Linked DNA regions of Homo sapiens: region 1 is linked to region 2. Evidence: promoter capture Hi-C in 16 types of primary human blood cells and fetal thymus (Javierre and others, 2016). All regions are on one chromosome and are shown on one strand. Each heading gives the region's core, a stretch centred on a gene start or on the middle of the fragment in contact. The rest is flanking DNA. Distances are from core to core; before and after follow the strand shown.

Region 1 (7,024 bases), core at 2,555-5,054, 410 kb before region 2:
ACTTGAGGAGACAGTCTGTCTGTTCTCAGAGCTCAAACGCTGTGCTGGGAGAACCACTGCTCTCTTCAGAGCTGTCAGACAGGGACATTTAAGTCTGCAGAAGTTGTCTGCTGACTTTTGTTCAGCTATGCCCTGCCCGCAGAGGTGGAGTCTATAGAGGCAGTAGGCCTTGCTGAGCTGCGGCGGGCTCTGCCCAGTTCGAGCTTCCCGGCTGCTTTGTTTACCTACTCAAGCCTCAGCAATGGTGGATGCTCCTCTCCAAGCCAGGCTGCCGCCTTGCAGTTCAATCTCAGACAGCTACACTAGCAGTGAGCAAGGCCCTGTGGGTGTGGGGCCCGCTGAGCCAGAAATGGGAGAGAATCTCCTGGTCTGCCAGTGGCTAAGACCTTGGGAAAAGCGCAGTATTTGGGCAGAAGTGTCCTGTTTTTCCAGGTACAGTCTGTCACGGCTTCCCTTGGCTAGGAAACAGAAATCCTGCAACCCCTTGCACTTCCTGGGTGAGGCAACGCCTCGCCCTGCTTAGGCTTGCCCTACATGGGTTGTGCCCACTGTCCAAGCAGTCCCAATGAGATGAACCAGGTACCTCATTTGGAAATGCAGAAATCACCCATCTTCTGTGTCAATCACGCTGGGAGCTGCAGACCGGAACTGCTCCTATTTGTCCATCTTGGAACCTCCTGAAATATGTTTCTTGAGAGCAGGGACTACAAGATTCAAATTTTAAAGTTTTTAGTATCTTTTTTGGTTTTTAATGTAATGTCTCACAGCACATTCTAGTTCGTCTGCCCTTCTTTATACCTATTAGAAGCAGCTTGTCTATCTACAGGAAATCCTCTGGGATTTTCATTATGATTTGGTATCTGAACCCTAAGATTTCTTTTTAAGAACATTTTAAACTATGAATTCAATTTTGTAAATGGTTATGGGACTACTTAGGTTACCTATTTGAGCTTGAACAGATTTTGGTAATTTGTGATATTTGAGAAATCACTCCATTTCATCAGTTGTTAAATTTTTGTGTGTAGGGTTATTTATAATACTCTCTTATTATCCCTTTAATGTCTGTGGGGCCTACAGTAATATCCCTGCTTTCATTCCTTATACTGCTAATTTTTATCTTTTATTTTTTTTCTTTGTCAGTCTTGCTAGTGGCTTATTAATTTCACTGATCTTTTTAAACACCAGCTTTTGGTTTTATTGATTTTCTCCATTTAAGTTCACTGACTCTTGCCTCTGTCCTCTCCATTCTGCTATTAGTTCATCCACTGAGTTTTAAATTTTGGTTATTGTATGTTAAATGTAAAATTTTTCATTTGGTTCTTTCTATTTTATATGTTCTATTTCTTTGCTGATACATTGTGTTTTAATGTTTGTTTCAAGAGTGTTTATAATTGCCATGCCAGCATTTTTATAATATGTTTTAAAGTCTTCGTCAGGTAATTCCAACATCTGTAGTTTTGTCATTGGCAACCGTTGATTATATTTTTCCATGTGAGCTAAGACTTTTGTGTTTCTCCATATGCCAAGTAATTTGGGCTTATACTCCTAGACCTTTGGAATATGACACTATGAAACTTGGTTTTAAGTCCTGTGGAGACTGTTGGTATTTTTTTTTAACAAGCAATTAACCTGACTAGGTTAGGCACAAGTTGTAACTCACCTTCTGTGAGCTGTGGCTCTAATGTTTGTTCAGTTTTAATGCCTTTACAGTGTTATCTGTATTTGTCCCATCTAGTAATTAGTCTCGGGCCCAGGCAGAATTCTATTAACTCAGTTTACACTAATTAGATTAAGAGCCTTGCATATGAAGATAAGGAAGGTGTGCCTACATGTTCATATAAAAGTAATTGGGGTTGCTTTCCTGAACTCTTCTATTTCCACTATCTCTCTGGTACTTTCTGTTTCCTTGGGGTTTCCCTTTTTGGAAACCACCCCCTTTCGTAATTGCTCCACCTCTGGTGCCAGTTAGTGGAAGGGTAGAAAGATGGGAAAAAACAGGTCTGGGTTTGGATGCACTCTTTTGCAGCATGAGCTCTACCGAATGGAGAGGAAGTCTCCCTTCCCTTAGAGTTTTGGCTCCTGCAGTCTCCTGTTGGTAGCCACTGTAACAGCTGCCACCATTACTGTGGGATATTTTGGAGTCTGAGGCATAAGAGAATGGACAAAAAGGAGAGGAAAAGACCCAGAGGATTCCTGCATTCTCTCTAAGCTTTGGGAGTTCCTCTTCCTGCAGTTTCAGCCACAACTAGAAGGTACACCTTTCTCTTTCTGCACCACAGTGCTCCTTTCCAGATTTGAGGTTGCATTGGATTCAGGCTGGGGAAGCTGCTGAAGAAAAAAGAAATGCTGACTTGCTGGTAATTTGAATTCTGGTATTCTTCCCCATTCCTCCTTTTTCAGAGTCCTTAAAGAGTTACGTCATCTATTTTGTTCAAGGTTTATAGTTGTGTTCAATTGGAGAGAAAGAGTGACGTGTATTTATCCTATCTCACTCAGAACTGGACTTTTATTAAGTTTTCAGGGTTCTTTATATATTCTGGAGAGAAGTCCTTTTTCACCTACCTAATTTGCAAATATTTTCCCTAGTCTATTGCTTATTTTTTATTCTCTTAACAGTGTCTTTTAAAGAACAGAAGTGTTAATTTTGATGTAGTACAATTTATCAATTTTTTCTTTTATGGATTGTACTTTTGAGATAAAATCTTTAAAAAGTCACAATGGTTTTTTCTTTTTTTCTTTTTCTTTTTTCTTTTTTTTTTTTTGATGGGGTCTTACTCTGTCACCCAGGCTGAAGTACAGTGGCATGAACATAGCTTCCTGCAGCCTCTAGCTCCTGAGCTTAAGTGATCCTCTTGCCTCAGCCTCCTGAGTTACTGGAACCACAGGCACCTGCCACCATGCTCGGTTAATTTTAAAACTTTTTATAGATATGAGGTCTCGCTATGTTGCCCAATCTGGTCTTGAACTCCTGGGCTCAAGCAATCCTCCTACCTCAGCCTCCCAAAGCGCTGGGATTATAGGCTTGAGACACCATGACTGGCCTCTCCATGTTTTATTTTAGAAGTTTTATAGATTTAGGTTTTACATTTATGCCTATGATTAATCCTGTATTTTGCTTATGGAATGAGATATAAATTGAAGTACATTTATTTGGATATGGATGTCAAATTGTCTAGCACAATTAACAAAAAGACTTTTTCAATAGTCTTTTCTACACTGACTGCCTTTACACTTCTGTAAAAAAATCAGTTATCCATATATATGTGGCTTTATTTTGGTACTCTATTCTGTCCCATTGATCTATTTATCTCTTTTATTGTGGTAAAATATACTAACATATTTGTCATTTTAACCATTTGTAATTGTACAATTCAGTGACATTAAGTACATTCACAATATTGTATAATCATCACCACTATATACAAATGTTTTTCATTGGTCTCAACATAAACTCTGTACTCATTCAATAATAACTCCCTATTTCCCCCTCTCCCATCCCTGGTAACCTCTGTTCTATTTTCTGTCTCTATGAATTTACCTATTCTAAGTATTTCATAATAGTGGAATCATACAATATTTATTCTACTGTGTTTGGTTTATTTCACTTAACATATGTTTTCAAGGCCCATCTATGTTGTAGAATATATTTAAAAATTAATTCCTTTATGACTAAATAATATTTCATTATATGCATACATCACATTTTATTTATCCATTCATCTGTGGATGGACACTTGGGATGTCTCCGGCTTTTGGCTATTGTGAATAGTGCTGATGTCAACATTGGCCCAAATATCTGTTGAGTCCTTGCTTTCATTTCCTGTAGATATATGCCTAGAGGTGGACTTGCTGGGTCATATGGTAGTTGTATGTTTAACTTTCGAGGGTTGCTAAACGATTTTTCACAGTGGCTGCTCCATTTTACATTTCTATTAACGATGCACAAGGACTCCAATTTCTCCATATCCCTATCAACATTTATTTTCCAGCTTAAAAAAATTATAGGCATCCTAGTATGTGTGAAATGGCATGCCATTGTGGTTTTGATTTGCATTTTTCTAATGACTAATTATGTTGAGCTTCTTTTCAGGTGCTTAATGACCATTCATATACCTTCCTTGGAGAAATGTCTACTCAAGTCCTTTGCCCAGTTTTAATAGGGTTGTTTTATGTTGTTGTTGTTGTTGAGTTGTAGGAGATGTTTATATATTACAGGTATCACTTCCTTATCAGATGTATGATTTGCAAATATTTTCTTCCATTCTGTAGGTTTTCATTTTCTTGGTAGTATCCTTTGACGCATGAAAGTTCTTAATTTTGATGAAGTCAAATTGGTTTATTTTTTCTTTTGTTGCCTGTGCATTTGGTGTCACCGCCACTAAATTTTGCCAAATTTAATGTGATGAATATTTTCTCCTCCAATTTTTTTTCTTCTAAGAGTTTTACAACTTAGCTTTTAAGTTTAGGTATTTGACTATTTTAAGTTAACATTTGTGTATGGTATAAGATAAGGATCCAAGTTCATTCTTTTATGTGTAGAGATCCAGTTTTCCTAGTACCAATTGTTGAAAAGACTGTCCTTTCCCCATTGGATGGTCTTAGTACACTTGTCAAAAAAATTGACCATATATGTAAGAGTTTATCTCTAGGCTCTCTGTTCTATTCCATTGGTCTACATGTCTGTCCTTGTGCCAGTACTATTACTTTAACTTCGTGGTAAGTTCCACAGTTGGGAAGTGTGAGTCCTCCAACCTTATTTTCTTTTTCAAGATTATTTTGGCTATTTGGGACCCCTTGCAATTCCATATAAATTTGAGGATTATTTTTCCATTTTTAGGAACAAGATTATTGAAATTTTGATAGAGATTGCATTGAATCTGGAGATTGCTTTGGGAAGTATTTATATCTTAACAATGTTGTCTTTCTATCCAAGAGCTTGGACGTCTTTTTATTTATTTAGGTACTCTTTAATTTCTTTCAGCAATGTTTTGTTGTTTTCAGTATAGAAGTCTTTCACCTCCAGGGTTAGATTTATTCCTATGTATTTAATTATTTTAGATGCTATTGTAAATGGAATTGCTTTATTAGTTTTCTTTTTGGATTGTTCATTGCTGGCAAGTAGGAACAACACTAATTTTTTTTGTATTAATCTAGTACCCTGCAACTTAGCTGAATTTATTTATTAGCTCTATACCTTTTTTGTGGATTCTTCAGGATTTTCTATATATAGGGTCATATCATCTGCAAATAGAGAGAGCTTTACCTCTTCCTTTCCAATTTGGATGCTTTTTACTTCTTTTTGTCTACTAGCTCTGGCAAGAACTTCCAATACAGTGTTGAAGAGCAGTGGTCAAAGAGGACATCTTTCTTTTGTTTCTCATCTTAGGGGAGAAGCTTTCAGTCTTTCACCATCGAATGTGATGTTAACCATGGGTTTTTCATAATTACTTTTTATCCTATTGAGGAATTTCCCCTCTATTTCTGGTTTTCTGAGAGTTTTGTGATAAAAGGGTGTTGGATTTTGTAAAATGCCTTTCTGCATCAGTTGAGATTATCTTGTGGTTATCTTCCTTTGTTTTATTAATGTGATGTATTACATTGGTTGATTTTCTTATACTGAACCACTCTTCCATTCCCGGAATAAATCTTACTTGGTCATAGTAAATAATACTTGTTAATATGCTGTTGGATTTAATGTGATAATATTATGTCAAAGATTTTTTTCATCTGTAGTCATAAGGGATATTGGCCTATAATTTTCTCTTTTTGTGATTTTTTTTCTGGTTTTGGTATCAGGGTAATGCTGGCCTTGTATAAGGAGTTAAAAAGTGTTTCCTCCTCTTCACTTTTTGGAAGAATTTGAGAAAGATTTGTGTTAATTCTTCTTTAAATGTTTGGTAGATTCATCAGTAAAGCCATCTGGTCCAGGACTTCACTTTTTTGGGAGGTTTTTGAATACTGTTTCAATCTCTTTACTTGCTATAGGTCTGTTAATATTTTCCATTTCTTTCTGAGTCAATTTAAATAATTTGTGTATTTCAAGGAATTTATTCATATCTTTTAGGTTATCTAATTTGTGTTCGATTGTTCATAGTGGTCGCATAGTCCCTTTTCTCTCTGCAAAGTCAGTAGTAATGTCTCCACTTTCATTTTCAATTTTAGTTATTTGCATTTTCTCTTTTTTTCTTTGTCAGTCCAGCTAAAGGTTTTTAAATTTTTTTCATCTTTGCAAAAGACCAACTTTTGGTTTCATTGATTTGCTCTATTTTTTCTATTCTCTATTTTGTTTATCTCTGCTCTAATTCTTATTATTTCCTTCCTCCTACTAGTTTTGGGTTTCATTTGCTCTTCTACTTCAAGTTCCTATGGTATAAAGTCAGGTTATTGATTTTAGATCTTCTTTTTTAATGTAGACATTTATACCTATAAATTTCCCTTTAAGTACTGCTTTTACCGCATCCCGTAAGTTTTGTCGTGTTGTGTTTTTGTCTCTAGGTATTTTATAATTTCTTTTGTGCTGCTTTTTCTTGTGACTCATTGGTTGTTTGAGTGTTTTGCTTAATTTCAACACATTTGTGAATTTTCCAGTTTTACTTCTGTCACTGATTCCTGTTGTGGTCAGAGAAGATACTTTGTGTGATATCTATCTTTTAAAATTGATTGAGACTTATTTTGTGGCCTAACATATGGTCTATCTAAGAGAATGTCTTACATGTGCTTGAGATGAATGTTTATGCTGATGTTGTTGGGTAGTGTGTTCTTTATATGTTAGATGTAATTAGTTTATTGTGTTGTTTATGTCCTCTATTTCTTTACCTTGTCTGGTTGTTCTATCTATTATTGAAAGTGGACAGATGAAGTCTGCTACCATTGTTGTAGAACTATATCTTTCTTCAATTCTGTTAAGTTTTGCTTCATAAATTTTGAGGGTCTATTATTAGGTGTGTAAATATTTGTAATTGTTTTATCTTCTTGCTATATTGACTATTTTATTAATATATAACATAATGTTTCTGTCTTTGAA
Region 2 (7,730 bases), core at 1-2,500:
CCTAATAAACACCCCCAACCTTCCCCCAACTCCTCTACCCCCGCCCCCACCCCGGCACTCACCATCCTTCAAGTCCATGTGTGACCTGATTCTTCTGGGAGGTGAGACAAGAGCTGAGATACAGAAACTGTCACACTGACCCTCTGCGCTTGCAAAAAGGCAGAGGGTCTATTGAGCTGGTTAACACTTAAGCCGTCAGCTGATGGTAAGGCTAAAAGAGCACACTGTAACACACGCCCATTTGGGCTCCGGGAATCACGGGATCCTGCCCCTGGACACTGCCGTGGGGCTGGAAGCCCAGCGCCCCAGCTTTTGCACCCTGGCTCCTGCACCCGTCCGTCTGCATGCTCCACCTCCCATAAGGGGTTTCAGCAGGCAGAGACCGAACACACGAGCCACAACCCTGTTGCACGTCCTGCAAAGGGCTGTGGGAGGGCGGGGGCCGGGAGGAAATCAGGGAACTCTCCTGTTTCATTGTCACAAGACTTGCAAGGCTTCCTTAAGAGAGGGGTACACTTCCCCACCCACTGACAGCAAGTTTTGACCAATAGAAAGTGAGCAGAACTGAGGCATGCGGAATGTGAGTTTGGAAAGCAGCTTGTGCCAGTCATGTACAGGAGCTAATTGTTAAATTTCCAGGAACTTGGCAAGCCACTTGTTGGACTGTTTGTAGCTTGAAATCGGCCATTGTGGGAGCATTTACATCATAGAAATAGCAAACACTACATATCTGGACTTCCCCCTTCTCCCTCAAAGTTGGTTTACCAGCCCAGCAGGGAGCATGGCCCAGAAAAGTTGACCTTTCAGCCTGGAGTGAAGAAAACTGGTGGAGTACTGCCAAAGCTCCCTGCAGCCACAGTAATTCGCTTGAGAAATGGACCTTTAAGCCACTGAGTTGCAGGGGTTGTTCGTTACCTGAGCATCATCTAGCCAAAGCTGGTACACCATGCTGGTGTTTTGGTGAACACCAATAAGCGCCGCCTTCATCTGTCCCAACCTAGGTTGGAGGGATTTCTTCCAATAACTTGTGACATCATGCGCCTACAGCCTGCAAAGATGCAAACCGCGCTCTGAGACTCAGGCCCGGGAATTCAGGTCTTGGAAGGTTAATGCAAAGTTGTAAAACAATAGTTACATTTCAACCACACTCAGCTATTGCGTCATCTTAAAACCCTGGCCAACACAAATCTGTCGCTCGCGATCCTTGGCGGTTTCAGAGCGACTCCCCTACCGCTTTCGGGCGAAGGCCACACGTGACGGCCCCCCTTTCCCCGCAGACGTGTGAATGCAGCGCTGTGTCTTTAAGGGGCACGCGCGGAGGTTTTCCGTCCGGGACAAAATGTCAGCGAGGCGCCTGGAGGGGGATCTACCATCTCGGACTCCCGACCCGCCGCCGGCTCCGGCCGCGTTTCCCGGGTAAAGGGGTGAGTGTGGGCTTCCAGACTCGGTGGCGAGGCGGGCTGGGCCGGGCAGCGGGGAGCGCAGGTGAGCAGCGACCGCGGACGCCCCTGCCGGCCTCCCTGGCACCCGCGCGGGGCGTGCCCTTCGCTGGGCTGCCCTTCTCCGGGCCGGCTGTCGCGACTGTGAGAAAGCAGGTGGGCCCGGGATTCTGTGGCAAGGCCCCGCTCACCGTCTTCCAGTGCCTCATTCTTGCTCCTTCCCTGCACTCCTCTTTCGACAAGCTTGTTCGGAATGTGGAAATTCGTCACCACTCTCCTGCTCTCCCTTTATTAAAGTTGTCTGATTACAGTCTTTTCACTGGGCAAGTGACTGGACGCCCTGCAGTGGGTTCTTTCTGTAACTGGGACTTGCTTGATGTCGCCCACTTTCGGAGGGAGAAAGCGAATGCAAGCCAAAAGCTTACACCAGAATCCCCACCCCTCCCCCACCCCTCATGGCCCCCAAACAAAAGAATTTTCCGCTCCTTTCGGAGTCCGCTGGAGCAGTTTCTGTGATTTCTTGCACGAACCAAATGCCCGAGGCTTAGCAAAGCAAAAACCCCCTTGAAGGAAAAAAATAAATACTTACCACTAGTCGAATTTCTAATGAGCCAAGACTACAAAGATAAGGTGTTTAAGAGAAACAGTTGTAGAAACAGCTTAATACATTGACCTAATTAGGGTAATTATTTTCTGCTGTTTTTATTCATATGCTGACACCTTTTGGAGGCAAGAATAGCTTGAGGCAGCCAAGAATAAAAAAAAAAGTAGACAGCAATACGTATTATAAAAAGACCAAAAGCCCAAGCCAGGTAATTCTCAATTTAAAAATTAAATTAAAAAAATCTTTGAGTCACAAAGGCCTTCAAAGTAGGGCAGCTTTAAATTCCTATAACTCAGATTAAATTATGCATTTTTACAAGATAAAATGGATCACCACCTTAATCTTTAGGACCATATCTATTAAGCAAAGTAATGCAGACCTGAAATAAAGGTCCACTTTAAGGGCAGAACACTTCACAATTTTCATTTTTAAAAGTGCATTAATAGAGAGAGAGAGTGCTTCTCTGCCTTTTAGCTAATGGTAGAAATATCTAAGAGTTTGGCTTATGCCATTTAGGAAACAACTCTGATTCACCCCTTAATTACCTGTGAGTCCAGTGTATTTTTTACAGTCCACATATAACCTTTTTCTAAATTTTTACACATTTTACCATTTATTCCCCAACTCAGGTTTTACAGTTTGGAGGCATTTTTACTTGTCTTTTAACTTCAGCTAAGCCTTCAGCCTGGTGATTCCAGACTAATTTTTCTAATTGTCTGGATCTCTTTATAAATAGATTAATATATGGCAGTAAACTAATATTTCAACAGAGATGGACGGATAACAGATGAACTGTGGTTTTCTTGACACTTCAGTTGTCAACTCTAATTACTTGTATTAATTATTATGCTCTGCTTTCATTAAAGTCACTGGTGGATGAAGTAAAAGAAAATGTTTTTAGTGTTTCCACATATGTCTGTGTGAATTTCACGTTAGTGTGAATTTCTCATCTAAGATCCAGGCTCAACCAACATATATTGATTTAAACTCTGCCTGGTCAACCCAACTACAGTAAGTAGCCTTGAGTATAGAAGGACAAATAGAGGTGTAGTTAATCTGCTATGTCCTTTTGAGAACAGTGCCTGGTTCTTTGGCCTTTAGCCTGCCAAATATTTTTTATGTGCACAAGCATAAGTATAAAATAATACAATCAACTTTTGTAGGTGCTTTATAGGATGAGTCTCAATATTATAGTCATACCTTGTGTATATGCCCATGTTTATACAGATTATTCATCCAGGTTTTGATCTCTTCCTTTATTCTTTATATTGGTATTCAGGGACATCATACTGAGGAATCTGGGATTTAATCTGATAGTTCATCAGAAGGATAGAACTTCTTCAGAAATTGAGTCAAATGGAGAGATAATTAATGTGAATTTATTGTCTTCCACAGGCTTAGATTTAAGAACTCCTTCCAAATAATGGATACTCAAATGAAACTCAGCTATAGCAAGTGCAGAGGCATGGTACCAGCAACACTACTCTCTCTCCTTCCTTGAAATATCTAAAATCTACATTTGTCTTTTCAGTTTTTTTCACCCTGAAATTACACTCAAAAATTTCCACTGTTAATTTCATGTTAGCAGTGCTTTTATTTAGCTTCAAGAAACTTTCTTTTAAAATAGGAGCTTGGAAGCCTCGTTATACAACTGAGGAACTGGAACTTCATTAGAGTCGAGTACTAAGGGTAATGTGTTTTGGTGATGGACAACAATGCGTTTGTGCCCTGTGGGGCATGGGAGGGGAAGGGATGCTGAACTGCATGAACTTTTGTGTTAGGGCCCCTAAGACATCAGCTCCCAGGAGCTGCCCATGCCCACCCCTTCCCCAGTGGAGATTATGTGACGGAATTCACCCGAAGGAGTGAGCACTGATTTCACCTTTACCACAGTGTGTTAGTAATCTGTTTTCGCGCTGCTGATAAAGACATACCCAAGACTGGGCAATTTATAAAAGAAAGACGTTTAATGGACTTAAAGTTCCACGTGGCTAGGGAGGCCTAACAGTCATGGCGGAAGGCGGAAGGCGAAAGGCACTTCTTACCTGGCTGCGGCATGAGCTATAATGAGGGTCAAGCGAAAAGGGCTTCTCGTTTATAAAACCATCAGATCTCGTGAGATTTATTCACTAGCACAAGAACAGTATGGGAGAAACCGCGCTCGTGATTCAATTATCTCTCACCAGTTCCATCCCACAACACGTGGGAATTATGGGAGTAGGATTCAGGATGAGATTTGGGTGGGGACACAGCCAAACCATATCACACAGGTATCAGAATTATTGTTGGAAGCATCTCTTTCCCAACCAGACCGTACGCTTCCTGAGGGCAAAGACTATGTGACGTTCCTCTTGGAATGCTTGGCAGAAAGCACGCACCTGACCTTAGCAGGTGCACAATGAGCATTTGAATGAGAGTTGGATGGAGTGAATGGATGTAAGCAAAATACTCATTCATTGGCATCTTTGTGTTAGTTTAAAAATTTTTTCAAGGAAAAATTAAGGGAGCTTTTTTCATTTTCTTATTAGCTAACCACAGAATTAATGATATGCATTCTCATTGGGTATTTGGTAAGGAAGAAACGCGTTATCACAGGGCTTTGGCTAATTAAACCTCCCCATTATCTTATTTTACCCTAGTGATAAATAACCTATTTTGCATGAAGTTCAATTTAGGAAGTGAAAATAAATTTAAGGGGTAAGGGTCTTGGATCTGTTACTCTTTTTTATTTGCTCTTTGTAGTCAATTCCCAAGGGGATTCCTCCAACTTAGACTACTTACTCTGTTGAATAACATAATGTCAGATGGAAAAACAACTGCCTTTTAGCCATTAAAATCTTAACGTGGGCATGTCTGAGCAGTAAATATCGGTAGTTTCTTTATTGTTCATGTCTTAAATTTATATAACACCGGAGAGTCCAACAGTGACATCATTTGCACTATCTATGATCTCAGCCACCTGTTTAGAGGCAAATAATCTTATTATTTCTCTTGACAGATGGGAAGATTGAGACTCGGGTGGGCTGGGGCTAAAGAAACAGAGTCAGGTTCACTTCACTTAATGCAGCATCCCCCAAGTGTCTACCCTGTGCCAGGGAGATGAATGGGATGAGCTCCTCTTCCATGACATCCTGGGTGTGAACACAGAATCTCCTTCTGCAGAGCACAGCAAACCACGTGACAATGAGCAGCCTCACATGCTGGGTTTCCTCCTCCAAGCGGCGCAGCAGTGGGCTTCCCCATGGGACTGTCCCACCAGCCTCCACAGTTAAGGCTGGGCTGGCCCTGCCTGAGCTCACATGCTTGAGGAGCCAAGGGTTGTTTTGCTTTTTTGTTTTTGTTTTTTGTTTTTCTGAGATGGAGTTTCGCTCTTACTACCCAGGCTGGAGTACAATCGTGCAATCTCGGCTCACTGCAACCTCCGCCTCCCAGGTTCAAGCGATTCTCCTGCCTCAGCCTCCCGAGTAGCTGGGACTACAGGCACCCACCACCACGCCTAGCTAATTTTTTGTATTTTTAGTAGAGACGGGGTTTCACCATGTTGGCCAGGCTGGTCTTGAACTCCTGACCTCAGGTGATCTACCTGCCTTGGCCTCCCAAAGGGCTGGGATTACAGGTGTGAGCCACCACACCCAGGCCCAAGGGTTGTTTTATAAAATTATTTTTTATTTATGTAGAGATCCTGTGATATACACACTTTCCCTAAATGTATACACGTGATCACATGCATGCTTTCTTAGTACCTCATTGCTTTTACTTTTGTGTTTACCTCTTCCCCTTCTCCCTCCTTTCACATCAGTTACCATTGCCTCAACCATAGTATCTCCTTATTTTTCTTCATCTATAGCTATATATTGCCTCTACAGATATGTATATTACTTAATAATAGTGGGATCATATTATACACTCTTCTGCATCTCTCTTTTCTCCCTGAACAGTTCCTCCAGATATCCTTGTAAGACATTGAACAGAACTTCATCCTTTTCCTCTTTAATGGCTGTATAATATTCCCTGGTATGAACATATGTTATATACTCAGCCATTTTCCTGGTGGTAGGCATTCCCTTGCTTCCAGTTTCTTGTCATTCTACATGATTCTGATGTAGATTCTGATGTCATTCTACGTGAACATCCTGATACAAGACTGTGTTTATTGGTGCTGATAGTTCTATAGAAGAGATCCCCAGGAGTAGAATCTCAGGTTATCTTTTTTTTTTTTTTTTCAATACAGCATTTCGCTGTTGTCACCCAGGCTGGAATGCAATGGTGCTATCTCGGCTCACTGCAATCTCCACCTCCCAGGATCAAGCCATTCTCCTGCCTCAGCCTCCCAAGTAGCTGGGATTATAGGCACCCGCCACCATGCCCAGCTAATTTTTGTATTTTTAGTAGAGACAGGGTTTCACCATGTTGGCCAAGCTGGTCTCGAACTCCTGACCTCAGGTGATCCACCTGCTTGGAACTCCCAAAGTGTTGGGATTACAGGCGTGAGCCACCGAGCCCAGCCTCTATTTTTAATTAATATAGAAATTGCAGCTGGCCCTATCACACAGGTATCAGAATTGTTGGAAGCATCTCTTTCCCCACCAGATGGTACGCTTCCTGAGGGCAGAGACTATGTGACATTCCTCTTGGAATGCTTGGCAGAAAGCACGCACCTGACCTTAGCAGGTGCACAATGAGCATTTGAATGAGAGTTGGATGGAGTGGATGGATGTAAGCAAAATACTCAAATTCATTGGCACCTTTGTGTTAGTTTTAAAAAATGTTCAAGGAAAAATTGAGGGATCTCTTACTTTTCATTTTCTTCTTATTAGCTAACCACAGAATTAATGACATGCATTCTCATTGGGTATGCTCACGACTGTAATCCCAGCACTTTGGGAGGCCGAGGCAGGTGTATCACTTGAGCCCAGGTGTTCAAGGAAGACCAGCCTGGGCAACAGAGACCCTGTCTCTACAAAAAATACAAAAATTAGCCAAGCATGGTGGCATGCACCTGTAGTCCCAGCTACTTTGGAGGCTGAGGTGGGAGGATCACTTCTTGAGCCTGGGAAGCAGAGGTTGCAGTGAGCCATGATTGTGCCACTGCACTCCAGCCTGGGTGACAGAGCAAGACCCTGTCTTAAAAAAAATTAAAAAAAAAAAAAAAAGAAAGAAAGAAAAGAAATGGCCAGAATGCTTTCCTAAAATCCATCCCATCTTCACTAGTAATTGAGGAGTGTGCCTTTTCTCTACCTCCCTTGTAACTTTGGCTGTTAGACCTCTTAATGTTTCTTGGTGTGATGGATGTAAAACGATACCTTATTGCTACTTTAATAGCATTTCCCTGAATATAAGTGATGTTGTGCACCTTTTCATAAATTTCCTGGCCAGTGGAGCTGTTAGGTCATTTGCCTACTCATATTTCTCGTCTGTTTTTCTGTCGGTCTTTTTGTCTTTTTATTGTGTTTGAAGAGCTCTTTGTGTGTTACGGTTGTGGCTGAAGTGTCTGAAGAGGTTTCTCCCCCTCCACATTGCAGGGGCAGCTGAAATGCACTCGAGTTTTTTGTTTTTTGTTTATACTTTAAGTTCTAGGGTACATGTGCACAACGTGCAGGTTTGTTACATATGTATACATGTGCCATGTTGGTGTGCTGCACCCGTTAACTCGTCATTTACATTAGGTATATCTCCTAATGCTATCC

What was found. Contacts are between HindIII fragments. The CHiCAGO score rates a contact against its expected background, and 5 or more counts as called.
Region 1: a contact is called between a fragment that was not itself captured here and the fragment with the promoter of ZBED3 in region 2, in 1 of 17 cell types (naive CD8 T cells). The highest score is 5.6, in naive CD8 T cells.

Annotation. Positions count from the first base shown.
Region 1 is chr5:77,494,555-77,501,578 of GRCh38, reverse strand. It overlaps a transcript of WDR41 not described here. Among named protein-coding and RNA genes, the nearest start is that of WDR41, 5.8 kb to the right of the region's middle. The HindIII fragment of the contact is 3,185 bases long and covers 2,212-5,396 here.
Region 2 is chr5:77,080,805-77,088,534 of GRCh38, reverse strand. It overlaps ZBED3 (zinc finger BED-type containing 3), which reads left to right and starts at 1,250. Exons shown (of 3, transcript NM_032367.4): 1 at 1,250-1,424. ZBED3-AS1 (ZBED3 antisense RNA 1) reads right to left here and starts at 1,820. Exons shown (of 3, transcript NR_182763.1): 1 at 916-1,820. It also overlaps a transcript of PDE8B not described here. RefSeq lists enhancers at 1-387, 388-990, 991-1,592 and a silencer at 1,409-1,578. The HindIII fragment of the contact is 2,300 bases long and covers 1-1,684 here.